3 separate regions of the Homo sapiens genome follow, and regions 1 and 2 are each linked to region 3. The links are contacts of gene promoters, found by promoter capture Hi-C in blood cells and fetal thymus (Javierre and others, 2016). All regions are on one chromosome and are shown on one strand. The core of a region is centred on a gene start or on the middle of the fragment in contact, and the rest is flanking DNA. Distances in the headings are between cores, read along the strand shown. Region 1 overlaps LOC105379354 (a long non-coding RNA gene). Region 2 has its middle 26 kb from the start of LINC02209. Region 3 holds the start of DUSP4 (dual specificity phosphatase 4).

The links. The method cuts DNA at HindIII sites, captures the fragments that hold promoters and counts their contacts. A CHiCAGO score of 5 or more calls a contact.
Region 1: a fragment that was not itself captured here is called in contact with the fragment with the promoter of DUSP4 in region 3 in 4 of 17 cell types (megakaryocytes, endothelial precursors, M2 macrophages and 1 more); the score reaches 6.9 in megakaryocytes.
Region 2: a fragment that was not itself captured here is called in contact with the fragment with the promoter of DUSP4 in region 3 in 2 of 17 cell types (endothelial precursors and M1 macrophages); the score reaches 8.5 in endothelial precursors.

Annotation. Positions count from the first base shown.
Region 1 is chr8:29,870,902-29,875,338 of GRCh38, reverse strand. All of the region lies in intron 1 of LOC105379354 (a long non-coding RNA gene), which reads right to left. Among named protein-coding and RNA genes, the nearest start is that of LINC02209, 48 kb to the left of the region's middle. The HindIII fragment of the contact is 3,375 bases long and covers 1-3,271 here.
Region 2 is chr8:29,893,495-29,897,559 of GRCh38, reverse strand. No RefSeq gene overlaps it. Among named protein-coding and RNA genes, the nearest start is that of LINC02209, 26 kb to the left of the region's middle. The HindIII fragment of the contact is 3,682 bases long and covers 96-3,777 here.
Region 3 is chr8:29,348,663-29,352,772 of GRCh38, reverse strand. DUSP4 (dual specificity phosphatase 4) reads left to right here and starts at 2,089. Exons shown (of 4, transcript NM_001394.7): 1 at 2,089-2,927. The coding sequence starts at 2,495. LOC124901924 (a long non-coding RNA gene) reads right to left here and starts at 1,799. Exons shown (of 2, transcript XR_007060876.1): 1 at 1,239-1,799. RefSeq lists enhancers at 1,172-1,281, 1,322-1,391, 2,090-2,589, 2,912-3,061, 2,590-3,091 and silencers at 1,582-1,721, 1,912-2,231, 3,802-3,971. The HindIII fragment of the contact is 21,736 bases long and covers 1-4,110 here.

The sequences.
Region 1 (4,437 bases), core at 335-2,834, 520 kb before region 3:
GTTACAGATGACATCCCCTAGGTGGTACCACTCTGGCCTCTGTAAATAGCAAGTTTGATCTGCCTGACCCATTCAAAAGTGGCAGGGTCTGCAGAGCTGGGAGCGGGCCTGGCTTGGTCTCTGGGCAGTGGTGCAGTACCGGGAACTGTCCAGAGAGGCACCCTAAGGCTTGACAACCGCTTACTGAGAGGCCTTTTAGTTAGCCCTGTTCAGGGCTCTTCCACATTCATTGGTCAGGGCTATGGCAGCGTCCTTGGATTGGAGCTACTTTTCCCGTTACGGAAACAACAATCTTTTTCATCAGAGCGCAGTAGTTACTATTAAAAGCTGCAGTCGCATGGCAGGCTGGAAGTGGCGATTTAGAGAAACTTTTGTCTTCCCACTTCCCAGAGTGGTGCCAGATGGAGGGGTTTTGCTGGGACTGGAGAGGGAAGAGTGGGGCTAGGATCAAAGCCAGAAAGGGGAATGCTTCCTAAAGAAAGCCGCATGCAGAGGCCAGTGTAACTCCTCAGTTGCAGAGGGGGCTGTGGTGCCTTCTCTCAGAGCTCAGAGGCTACTAAAAGCTCAGCTCTGAGTCTGAAAGGCTTATATGATCCGGCTCTGGAGCTAAATGCCTCCAGAAATCCCAGCTCGATCACTTACTGCCTGTGTAGCGACAGTCAAGTTATTTTAACCTCTTTAAGTCTCAGACGTCTGATCCATAATATAAGGATATGAATAGCACCTCTTGGGTTTATTATGAGGACTATATGGGACAATATTTATATAAAGTCCATAGCACAGTCATTTCAACTTGACTGCACATTAGAATTACTCAGAGATCTTTAAGGAACACTGATGACTGGGTCCCATTGCCAGATTCTGGGATCATTACAACTGTCCTGGCGTGTGAGTTCTAAAAACTCCTTAAGTGGGCCAGGCGCGGTGGTTCACGCCTGTAATCCCAGCACTTTGGGAAGCTGAGGCGGGTGGATTACCTGAGGTTGGGAGTTTGAGACCAGCCTGACCAACATGGAGAAACCCCATCTCTACTAAAAATACAAAAATTAGCTGGGCGTGGTGGAGCATGCCTGTAATCCTAGCTACGCGGGAGGCTGAGACAGGAAAGTTGCTTGAACTCGGGAGGCAGAGGTTGTGGTGAGCCGAGATCATGCCATTGCACTTTAGCCTGGGCAACAAGAGCAAAACTCCGTCTAAATAAATAAATAAATAAAAACTCCTTAAGTGATGTGCTATGTTTAATTGCCCCCACTGTGATCTCCCCCACCAAGTTCATGTCCTTTCTGGAACTTCAGAATGTGGTTTTATTTGGAAATAGATTCATTGTGGGTGTAGTTAGTTAAGATGAGGTCATATTGGAATAGGGTGGGCCTTTAATCCAATAGGACTGGTGTCCCTATTAGGAGAGGAGAAGAGACACAAAACAGACAGGTACAGAGACAAAACAATGTGAAGAGACACAAGGAGAATGCTGTGCAACAGAGGAGGCAAAGATTGGAACGATGCATCTATAAGCCAAGGAATGCCAGAAATTACCAACAACTCCCAGGAGCTAGGAGAGAGGCAGGGAATGAGCTTTCCTGCAGAACCTTTCAGAAGGACACCTTGATTTTGGACTTCAGGCCTCCAGAGCTGTGAGAAAATACATTTCTCTTGTTTTTAGCCACCCAGTTCCTGGTATTTTGTGACAGCAGCCCTAGAAAGCTAATGTGGATTGTCATAATATACAGCCAACGTTGTCAGTCACAGCCATAGATGGTAGAATGTGGCAGAACATGGCTCAGAGAGCATCAGCTATTTTCATTATCTCAAAGCAGATAGCTTTAGCCATATTTAAGTGTCTACTGAGTCTCAGAAAAGCATATTGGATAGTAGTTGGTGCTGTTTGAGAGGAAAGAGTCCTAAGGAGCCCTGTTCTCTCAGGATGGGCCACCCTAGTCAATCACGGGGAAACAGTAGGTGTGATCACTGTCACGGGAATCCAGCCCATTCATAATAGTCTGAGAAAGCAGGTGCTCCATGTCAGTCTGGGTCTCAGAAGTTTGGGACACGCTGCATTCCATATTCCCTCTGTATTAGTCCGTTCTCATGCTGCTATGAAGAAATATCCAAGACTAGGTAATTTATAAGGAAAGAGGTTTAATTGACTCACAGTTCTGCATGGCTAGGAAGGCCTCAGGAAACTTACAATCATGGTGGAAGGCGCCTCTTCACAAGGTGGCAGGGAAGACAATGACTGCCGAGCAAAGAGGAAGCCCCTTATAAAACCATCAGATCTCATGAGAACTCACTCACTATCATGAGAACAGCATTGGGAAAACTGCCACCATGATTCAATTATCTCTACCTGGTCCCACCCTTGATACATGGGGATTATTACAATTCAAGGTGAGATTTGGGTGGGGTCACAGAGCCAAACCATATCACCCTTCTTTGAAGAAAACAGCATACGTTAGCATGTTCAAGGTTCTCCTGGAGTAAAGAAACCCCTTTGATTTTACTTATACCAGAATTTCCCAAGCCAGTCTGACTATGTCAAGCTCAACTTTTTCCATAACATGTATTATCCCAGCAGAACCAGTGCTCTGGAACCTGAATTAGGAAATCCTGACTAAAGTCACACCACCACAGGTGGGTACACACCTATCCAGAGGGAAAACTTAAAGGAAAAGGCTGGGCACGGTGGGTCACACCTGTAATCCCAGCACTTTGGGAGGCTGAGGCGGGTGGATCACTTGAGGTCAAGAGTTCAAGACCAGCCTGGCCAACATGGCGAAATCCTGTCTCTACTAAAGAATACAAAAATTAGCCGGGCGTGGTAGCATGCACCTGTAATCCCAGCTACTCAGGAGGCTGGGGCAGGAGAATTGCTTGAACCCAGGAGGCAGAGGTTGCAGTGAACTGAGATCATGCCACTGCCCTCCAGCCTGGGCAACAGAGATAGATGCTATCTAAATAACAACAACAACAACAACAATGAAAGACCAAAAAACCAAAAAACAAAACCTTAAAGGAAAGTGATTCCCTTGTTTTGTCATCAGGAGGAGCTCAGCATGGGCAGCACTGAGAGATTTGGAAACTCCAAGATGTTTTCCAGTTCAAGAGCACAGGAGCAGGTTGCACATGGAAGTTGGCTATGTACACTGCATAGATTCTCTAGAATAAAAAAAAATCTTCCTGGACATGAAAGTGTTCTGGGTCAAGTTTTAGAGCAGGGATGCCAGTGTCCATTGAGTTTGTCACCCTTGAATGCACTGGACAAATGCAAGCTTGGTGGTGAAGGGTGGTTTTTAAAGAGCAGCATTGTTTGGTCTTCAGAAGTTTGAGGGAAGATGTAACAGCTGTTGGAGGGTGTAGGGGGTCATAACAGCTGTTCTTCCTCTTCATGGAGAGTGGAATGAGAGAAAATGAAGCAGAGAAGTCTTCTGAGCTGTGAGAGAGCATTTCCCAATAATTCACAAAACTTTAGAGTGATAGAGTCAGAACTCAAAGCCAAGTCTCAGATTCTGAATCCTGTGTTTTTTTCACACCAAGGAATGCTGCGTAGAGGGTGAATCTGAGTTTATAGACTCAGTTATGCAAAGAATGAAACTGTCTTTCTCTATAACGTAACAACTGTTTCAGACCTCCATTGTGACAGAGTGGCAGAAATGTAATTTTAGTCAATTACTTTTGGGGTTGCTATTACCTTTGGGATGGTACCCAGTTCCAGGGGCTTACATGGGGACCATATGAGAGGGGGTGGGCAGCGCTGTGGTCCCTGATGTCTTGCCTCTGCAGGTGTCCTCTGGAGTATCCACTTCTTGTCTGGTTCTTGGTCATCTGTTCATGAAGACTGTCTCTGTCTCTGTCACCACAGCTACTTTGGTTCTGGTGGCTCTACTTGTGAGCCAGGTTAAAGCATGGAGGTCTCTGACAGGCTGTCTGTGCTCTTGTTGGTCTAGGTAACCTATATAGTCATTTTCTCTCTGGCATCTGGCTGCCCCCCTGAGACTCAGCTCGAGTCAGGGTACAGGGCTTTGCTTTCTTTTTCCTCTGAGGCATCAGCTTTTTGAAAAACAAACGAGGAAGATCACTTTACTTCCTTGTGTTCCATTCAATCATATCATCTCCTCTTCAAATGAAACAGAAGAACCAGGGGAGGATGATGATGAGAAAAAACCACAAGACCCTCAGAACTTCTGAACTACTGAAAAGAAAAAAAAACCCGTCACCTAATGTAATACTTCAGTAGTAGTAGTATTCCAGAAACTTCTCCCATTGCAGTGGGCCCTGGAGGAAGGGTGTAGTCTTTTCTTCCCCTGACTCATGTAGATGGATAAGTTCTGGGGCTCTGGGGCTCTACAGTATGTATGTACTGGGGCTGGCCTGTTGCCTAATATCTTGACCTCCAGCTCTTAGTGTGACAGAACCAGCCCAAGCTAGGAAGATCAATGT
Region 2 (4,065 bases), core at 687-3,186, 540 kb before region 3:
ACCTGGAGGGAGATAAAAAAGCTTTGTTTCTATGTTCTGTTTTCTTAGGGTAGAAACATTCCAAATAATTTTATGCCAGGCCAGAAAAGAAAGCTTTGTATTAAATATGGAGGACCTGCCTCCAAACAGAGGTGTTGACTCTGATCTAAAGTCACAGACATTGCTGTGGAAATTTTCTTGTTACCAGCTTTGTGCAGCCGTGGTTGGAGGGTCATTCTATCAGCCCAAGGGGGTTCCAGTCCCGCAGCTTGTCAGGAGATGCTGGTGAGTGGAAACAGAATCCTTCATCCTACAAATCACAGATGTGATCTTGACGGTCACGTTGGTTGGAGTCTTGAGATGCAGGTCCTCAATACCTATTAACCTCACCAGGATATGGTAACCTTTGTCTTCTTTGTCATTTTCATAGTTAACGTGGTAACAATGTTTGATAAATGACAATGAGGAGTTAATTCCATTGTGGCATTGAAAGGGAATACACATGGTTTTTAGCTTGAGAGTCCTACAACTTAACAGAAAAAGACAAGAAAAGCGCACATTCCAAAGGCATGAAGACAAAGAACAGACACCCCTAATTCCATATGGTTTGGATGCTCTGCATTTTGCTCCTGGCTATGCCAGGTAGTCACTCAGGTTGGTGGGGTCTCGGTGCCTGGGACACCCACCAATAACCATTTCTGTCTGGTCCTATGATGGTGTTAGATTCTGCAGATAGTCCTGGTTCTGAGAATACCAAAGGGATCAAAACACAGTAAGTAGTCCAAGCCAGTATTGTTGATTCCAAGAAATCACTTGGTTAATTGTATTGGCATTTATAGGACATATCGAAGAGCTGGAAGTAATGTAAGTGACGTGGATATCTGGGTGATGGCAAGTATGATGGGTGGGGATATTGACTATGTTAGGTTGGATGATCTCATAGCCTGATTTTAGGATGATGGTCCTGGTTCATGTGGAAGATATATGAAAGGTTAGAGCAAAAGTCTACTGAAGGCCAGGGGCAGTAGCTCATGCCTGTAATCCCAGCACTTTGGGAGGCCGAGGTGGGTGGACCACCTGAGGTCAGGATTTCGAGACCAGCCTGGCCAACATGGTGAAACCCATCTCTACTAAAAATACAAAAATTGGCCAGGCATGGTGGTTGGCGCCTGTAATCCCAGCTACTCAGGAGGCTGAGGCAGGAGAATCGCTTGAACTCGGGAGGCAGAGGTTGCAGTGAGCAGAGATCATGCCATTGCACTCCACCCTGGGCAATAGAGCAAAACTCCATCTCAAAAAAAAAAAAGTCCTCTGATGTAAGGCTCAAAGCATGAGGTCCAGGATTCTAGGCAAGGAGGTTAGGAGTCAGCTTCTGGGTCGATGACTAGAGAGATTCTTCTCAGGTTTCACTGAGGCAGTGAACTTCAGCAGGGTTTTGGAAGAGAAAGGAGCACTTCTTTATTGAGAGGATGAATGTATGTGAAACAAGGGAAGATGGTGAATGATTTCTATCTGCTAACTGAGCAGACTGGTCCAGGACGCTACTCTGTCCTTCTGGGGAAAATCTGAAACATAACCCTTGGTGTCTTACAAACCCTGGAGAAGTCAATGTGTAGGGTGGCACTGTCAACCTAAGAAATGGGCAGTTGCCTCTCATTTTAAAACCACCATCAGGATTATTTATTTGGCTTCCTTGGCAGTCAGAGAGAGTTGGCAGCTAACTCCCTTGGCTTGGCAGAGTCATGAGGCAGTCTTGAAAATCTGTTGCATTTTAAAAATTGTATTGGAAATTCTGAGATATTTTAATCAGTTTAGAATCAATCCACCTCAGAAAAAGAGGATGCAAGTTTGAAAACCATGCCAGTGTAGCTTTTTAATAGCTAATTATGCTATAGGCAGGGAAATGGTCAGGCAGTGACTCTTAGAATGAATAATGACATTAGATGAAATACAAAACAAATCCATACAGGTTTTATTGGATTGGAAGTAAGAGACAGAGAGAGGCTGAAAATTTACCCAAATCTGATTAGGGAAATAAAACCTCAGACAGAAAAATGATGGATGGTGTGAGCTGTTTAATTTGGGTCCCTTAGAGAGGTAATGTCCTCAGAGAATACACCACAGAGTTTCAGAGCTGAAGGGAGTTCAGGCATTTAATCCAGATGCTCATTTTTACAGAAGAGAAAACTGAGGCTTAAAGGAACAAACAACGTGACCAAGGTCTTACCAGCTGATAAGGGACAGAGTTTAATTTTTTTTTTCTTTTTTTTTTTTGAGACAGGGTTACACTCTGTCACCCAGGCTGGAGTGCAGTGGTGCCATCTCGGCTCACTACAACCTCTGCCTCCTGGTTTCAAGTGATTCTCATGCCTCAGCCTCCCGAGCAGCTGGGATTACAGGTGCCTGCCACCAAACCCGGCTAATTTTTGTATTTTTAGTGGAGACAGCGTTTCACCGTGTTGGTCAGGCTGGTCTTGAATTCCTGACCTCAAATGATCCACCCACTTCAGCCTCCCAAAGTGCTGGGATTATGGGTGTGAGCCACCATGCTTGGCCAGAGTTTAAATTTGAATCCAGATCTTTTTTTTTTTGAGACAGGCTCTCACTCTGAGGCTCAGGCTAGAGTACAGTGGCATGATCATTGCTTACTGCAGCCTCGACCTCTTAGGCTCAAGTGATCCTCCCCCCTCAGCCTCCTGAATAGTTGGGAGAATAAGCATGCACCACCATGCCTGGATAATGTTTTTTATCTTTTATTTTTTTTTAGAGAGAGGGTCTCACTATGTTGCCCAGGCTGATCTTGAACTCCTGGGCTCAAGTGATCCTCCCACCTTGGTCTCCCAAAGTGCTAGGATTACAGGTGTGAGCCGCTGCTCCCGGCTGAATCTAGATCTTCTGACTATTGAAAAGTTTGAGGCCATTTGATGAATCACAGTGCTCAGCCCATTGACAGACCTACCGGTGAAACATGCTCAATAAATATTTATCAGGGTCCATGAGTCAGTTTTCTTTGTCATCCAAGCCCCTGTGTCACCTGTCAGGCACTCGGGGATCCCAGTAGCTGAGTAGCTAATACCATGCAATGTACCATCTTGTGTCTTTTAGTCTTTTCAGTGGACAGCAGGACACTGGTCTGGATCCTGGTTCCCTTGGTTCTCAGATGAGGCTCTCAATGTCTAGGCTGACTGATTTGACTCTGTTCCACGTGCGTCTCCCTTGCAGACCCCTTAGCACACCCGAAATGCTGTCAGCTCAGCTCCCCCGATCAGCGTCATCACTTTCCCACAGCCACAAGCCAGAGAGCCTGCAGAAATGTTTGTCTTCCTGTGCCCTTTATTTCAAACATGGAATCAGTCCTAAATTCAGGCTCGTCTTAAACTGTGCATTCAGCGTTGTCTTTACTATTTTTGAGGCCACGGTCATAGACCAGGAATTCATTGTTTTTCCAGCTACCTCTTTTGCACTCTTTTTTCTCTGCTATGGATCTGACCAGAGCATATTTTTTCATTAGGTCTGAATGTGAGTTTCCATTCCCTTTTGGATCAAGTCTAAGATTTCATTGTGCACCTTTTCTTATCTTTTCATCTTTTATATTGTATTTCAATATCTTTCCACCTCAAAGAATAATAAGTCTATGGAGGCATCTTGGAAACCCAGGGAGTAAAATGTGGTGTGTTTATGTACAAACTGGTCCTACCACAGTGACTGGAAGATTTCTTGTCTAGTTCAAGAGACAATCATGTATCTTTCCTGACATTTCTCAAAAGGGACCTTTAGAAAATGACAAGCAGTTAAGCTTCCATTTATGGTACTTTATCATCTTTGTTTTGATAAAAATGACTTATTTTAAAAAGGTTCAAAGTAGCATTCTATTTTCCATGCAGTCTGTTTTTGTGGTTGAAGATGGTTTTAGATTTTTGAAAGCTTTTAAGTCCTCATAAAGGTATGTTGGAATGTAACATGGCCATAGTTTTCCCAAGATGCCACTCCTTTAATCATAATGATCAAACAAGAATTCTGAGGTCTTGGCTTCTGGTTGAAGATCAAGGAATGGATGAAGATCTGTTAGAAGTTGGGCATGTAGAA
Region 3 (4,110 bases), core at 840-3,339:
CGAAAGCGAGTTATTAGATAGACCCCCACAGTCCCATTCAGCAGAATGGGAAACTGGACTCAGACACCTTTTGCCCTCCCCACAGGGAGGCCACGCCGTGCGGCTTTGACCACTGATCTCCCACCCGGAGTGCCCGACGCCCAGGGTCCTGCCACCGGGCAGCCTCGGTCAGTCCACAGTTGTGGCTCCTTCCAGGGCCTGGACTAGGGTGAGCACAAGCCTTGAGCGCAACATTTAAGAAGGGCGCCGAAAAGTCAGTAATCAAAAGAAATATCTTGATGCAATGCCTCTTTAAAAGAAAAAAAAATGCAAAAAATCCATGATGAATAAAATACTAAATTTTAAAAAGAGAAAGGATCCGTGCAGTGCCATCGTAAGCCATTTTGGAGCCCGGAGCAAAAGGAAATATCACCTTGCCCAAGCGGTGCCCCTACAGCTCATCCGAGTAGGGCCCGGGGGTCGAGGCATTCGGGGCCCAGTGGGGGACGAGGCCAGTCGAAGGTCTCGGAAGTGGAGGCTCCGCCGAGCTCCGGTCGGGGAGTGCAGGGATGGCCCCCGGGACCGGAGGTGAGAGCTCGGGAAAGCCGCTCCGCCCGGAACAAAGGCATGGGGAGAGGGTGAGCTTGGGCGGGAGAGACCCGGCGGGTACCGGTGCCCTCGCTGCCTGGGTCGGGCTTCCACGCGCGCCCCGGAATGGAATACGCTACTCTGCAGCCTCCGAAACTGCGAGCGAGTCCTGTAACTCCCTTGCTCTGTGATTAATTCTCACTAACAAGACTTGGCAAGATGTCGGGCGAATGATTTTTGGCTTCTGCACGGTCCCCACCGCGTGCGTGCACAAACCCCCAGCCAAAAGCCGCCTCTGGGAAATTAAATGCAAAAGAGAAATGGGGATGGGGAGGGCTGCTACGTGACCAGGAAAAAGGGATGCCCAGAAACATGAATCGGACCCAGAGCTGCTGAAGTCCTTTCAAAAGGTCATTCTTTGCGGGTACATTTTCCAGGGTCCAGCTCCGCAACAAATGTGGACCCTGTCATTTCCTGAAAGGATAATTCACAACTATGCAAGATAGGGTGAAGACGTTTCCCAAACCCGAAAACCTTGTTTTTCCCCCGACCAGGGTTAAATAAACATCTTTTAGGAAGCGTGGACAGGAGCGCAGCCTGCTCTCCTCCCTCGGAACACCATTCCGGCAATTAATGCCTCCCTTTGGGTAGTAAAGCAACAAACCCCACACCTCACTCCGATCCTGGGCTTCGGGCGGGAGGACTTTCTCTTTCATCTTCCAAGCAGGGGGTTGCCCACGTTCTTGGGGAAGCTATAAAACTGATTTAATGGCTTTAGATGAAAATCGATCACGCTAATGCATACGCTAACGTCTCAGGAATCGCATATTCAGAAAGGACTGGCCGGGCCGAAAGCGCACGGGGAGTCTGGGGCTAGGAGGTGTCAGGCCCCGCTGGGTGGGCAGCAGCGCTCCGGTCCCCTCTCCACTTGGGTAACCGGGAAAAACCTACGGGGCTGTCACGCGGGGAAGCGCGAAGGTGCCAAGGGATGAAAGCTCAAACCCGAGCCCTGGCCTCCTCAGCCGGCTATTTCCTTTGGCGCCGCCCGCCTAGCGGCGGGGTGCAGCGGCGGCACAGGTGCCGGTGTCGGGCTGGAGGCGCGGCGCAGGCTGGGCCCGCGGGTAGACGGCGAAAGGCGCCGCGCGCTCCATTCACAAAGTCCGGGCGCTGCCCGCCGCTGGCGGCGGGTCGGAGGCCGCCTCCCTCTTCCTCTCGGCCTCGGTTTTATGAATGGGCCTGATGGCGAGCACCCGGCGCCCTGTTTACTCCGCTCTTTGTGACGTCGAGTTCCCGTGACCGGGAGCCAGCGGCCGCGCTCCATTCAAGCTCCGGGGAGGGGGTGGGAGGAGGGGCCCGGAGGGGGCGGGGAGTCAGCGCGGGGGGCGGGGGACAGCGCGGGGGGCGGGGGACGGCGCGGGGCCCGGAATGGAACGGGGCGGGGCCTGGCGGGGTAGTACCTAGCGCCCCCTCCCCCGGGAGCGCGGAGGAGCATTAATAAACCTCTAAGCCGAGGAGAAAACTCTGGCTGGGGCAGTGCGCTGAGCGCCGGAGGAGCGTAGGCAGGGCAGCGCTGGCGCCAGTGGCGACAGGAGCCGCGCGACCGGCAAAAATACACGGGAGGCCGTCGCCGAAAAGAGTCCGCGGTCCTCTCTCGTAAACACACTCTCCTCCACCGGCGCCTCCCCCTCCGCTCTGCGCGCCGCCCGGCTGGGCGCCCGAGGCCGCTCCGACTGCTATGTGACCGCGAGGCTGCGGGAGGAAGGGGACAGGGAAGAAGAGGCTCTCCCGCGGGAGCCCTTGAGGACCAAGTTTGCGGCCACTTCTGCAGGCGTCCCTTCTTAGCTCTCGCCCGCCCCTTTCTGCAGCCTAGGCGGCCCGGGTTCTCTTCTCTTCCTCGCGCGCCCAGCCGCCTCGGTTCCCGGCGACCATGGTGACGATGGAGGAGCTGCGGGAGATGGACTGCAGTGTGCTCAAAAGGCTGATGAACCGGGACGAGAATGGCGGCGGCGCGGGCGGCAGCGGCAGCCACGGCACCCTGGGGCTGCCGAGCGGCGGCAAGTGCCTGCTGCTGGACTGCAGACCGTTCCTGGCGCACAGCGCGGGCTACATCCTAGGTTCGGTCAACGTGCGCTGTAACACCATCGTGCGGCGGCGGGCTAAGGGCTCCGTGAGCCTGGAGCAGATCCTGCCCGCCGAGGAGGAGGTACGCGCCCGCTTGCGCTCCGGCCTCTACTCGGCGGTCATCGTCTACGACGAGCGCAGCCCGCGCGCCGAGAGCCTCCGCGAGGACAGCACCGTGTCGCTGGTGGTGCAGGCGCTGCGCCGCAACGCCGAGCGCACCGACATCTGCCTGCTCAAAGGTAAACGAGGGCTCCGGGCGCTAGCTGGAGTCGGGGAGATGGAGGGGGTCTTGGCGGCCTGCGCCTTATTGGCACGGGAAGGAGTCCCCGGCGTGATTCGTGGTTGCGGGGATCCCCGCGCGCCCCTTTGTGTGTGTTGGTGTGTAGGGGTTTGCAAGGTTTCTGTGCAAGTGCGAGGTTCAAGTCCTCAGGGAAAGTGCGGACGGGTTTCTCCGGTCACCTGCAATTCCGCACCGTCCTAGCGAGGCCCCGTTTATTGACATTAACGGTCCTAGCCTCGAGGATGAAGCGACTCCTCTGCGCGGTCCATCTTGAGTCCCGGGAACAGTTTCCAAGTACCACGGGGCGCGTGGGGACAAGATAGGCCTGTTGGTTTGGCGTGCTGGGGCCCTACACTGAGCCGGACCGGGAGAATCCCAGAGGTGGAGAAAAGGTGAAGAGGGGTGGGCGCCGAGGTACAATTGGCCTTGCCAGTTTCACTGAAAACAAGACCCTGGCAAATGCAGAAAGGGAGATTGGGTTGCACACACTGTGTAGAGCGATCTGTATCTGCGTTCCCGCTGCCCAACTCCAAGCTCAGCTTGGAAGGTGGCCAATCCCCGTCCCGGGCTAGATCCAGGCTCTGGGAGCGGGAGGCTGAAGGACTGGGTATCTGGGGGACGCCGGGCGGAACCGGTCCTCTAGCGCCTGCAAATCCGGGCAGCGGAGAATGATCACCTTTTGTTCAGCCCGGATTTTCGACTATCTGATGGCGGCGCGTGCCGGATTTTAGCGAGCCCTGGCGAAACTCTCGGCGGCGAGACTGTCTTGTCACATTTGGTAGTCGGAAATCCTGGAAAAATCGCGTGCTGTCCGAGTCCCTGGAGGGACCTGGCGCCCGCCACACCTGCAGGGCAGGGTGGGTCCGCGGCCCTCGGGCTAGGGAGCGGGCAGGGCGCGTGGGGTCCGGGCGCCCCCCGCCGCGCTGCGCCTCCGCCTCCCGCCGCCGCATTCCGCGCATTCTTCCGCGCGGGTAGGGTCTGCGCTTCCGAGCCCGGTAGGCAGTTCAGACCCCCCCACACCCATCAAAGAGCCGCTCCTCCCCCCCGCAGGCGCCTTCGCCGCCTCCCTCCCTTCCTTTCCTTTCCGCTCCTCTTCCGACCTGTCCACCCGGGAGGAAGGGAGCTGGAAAGGGGGCGGAAAC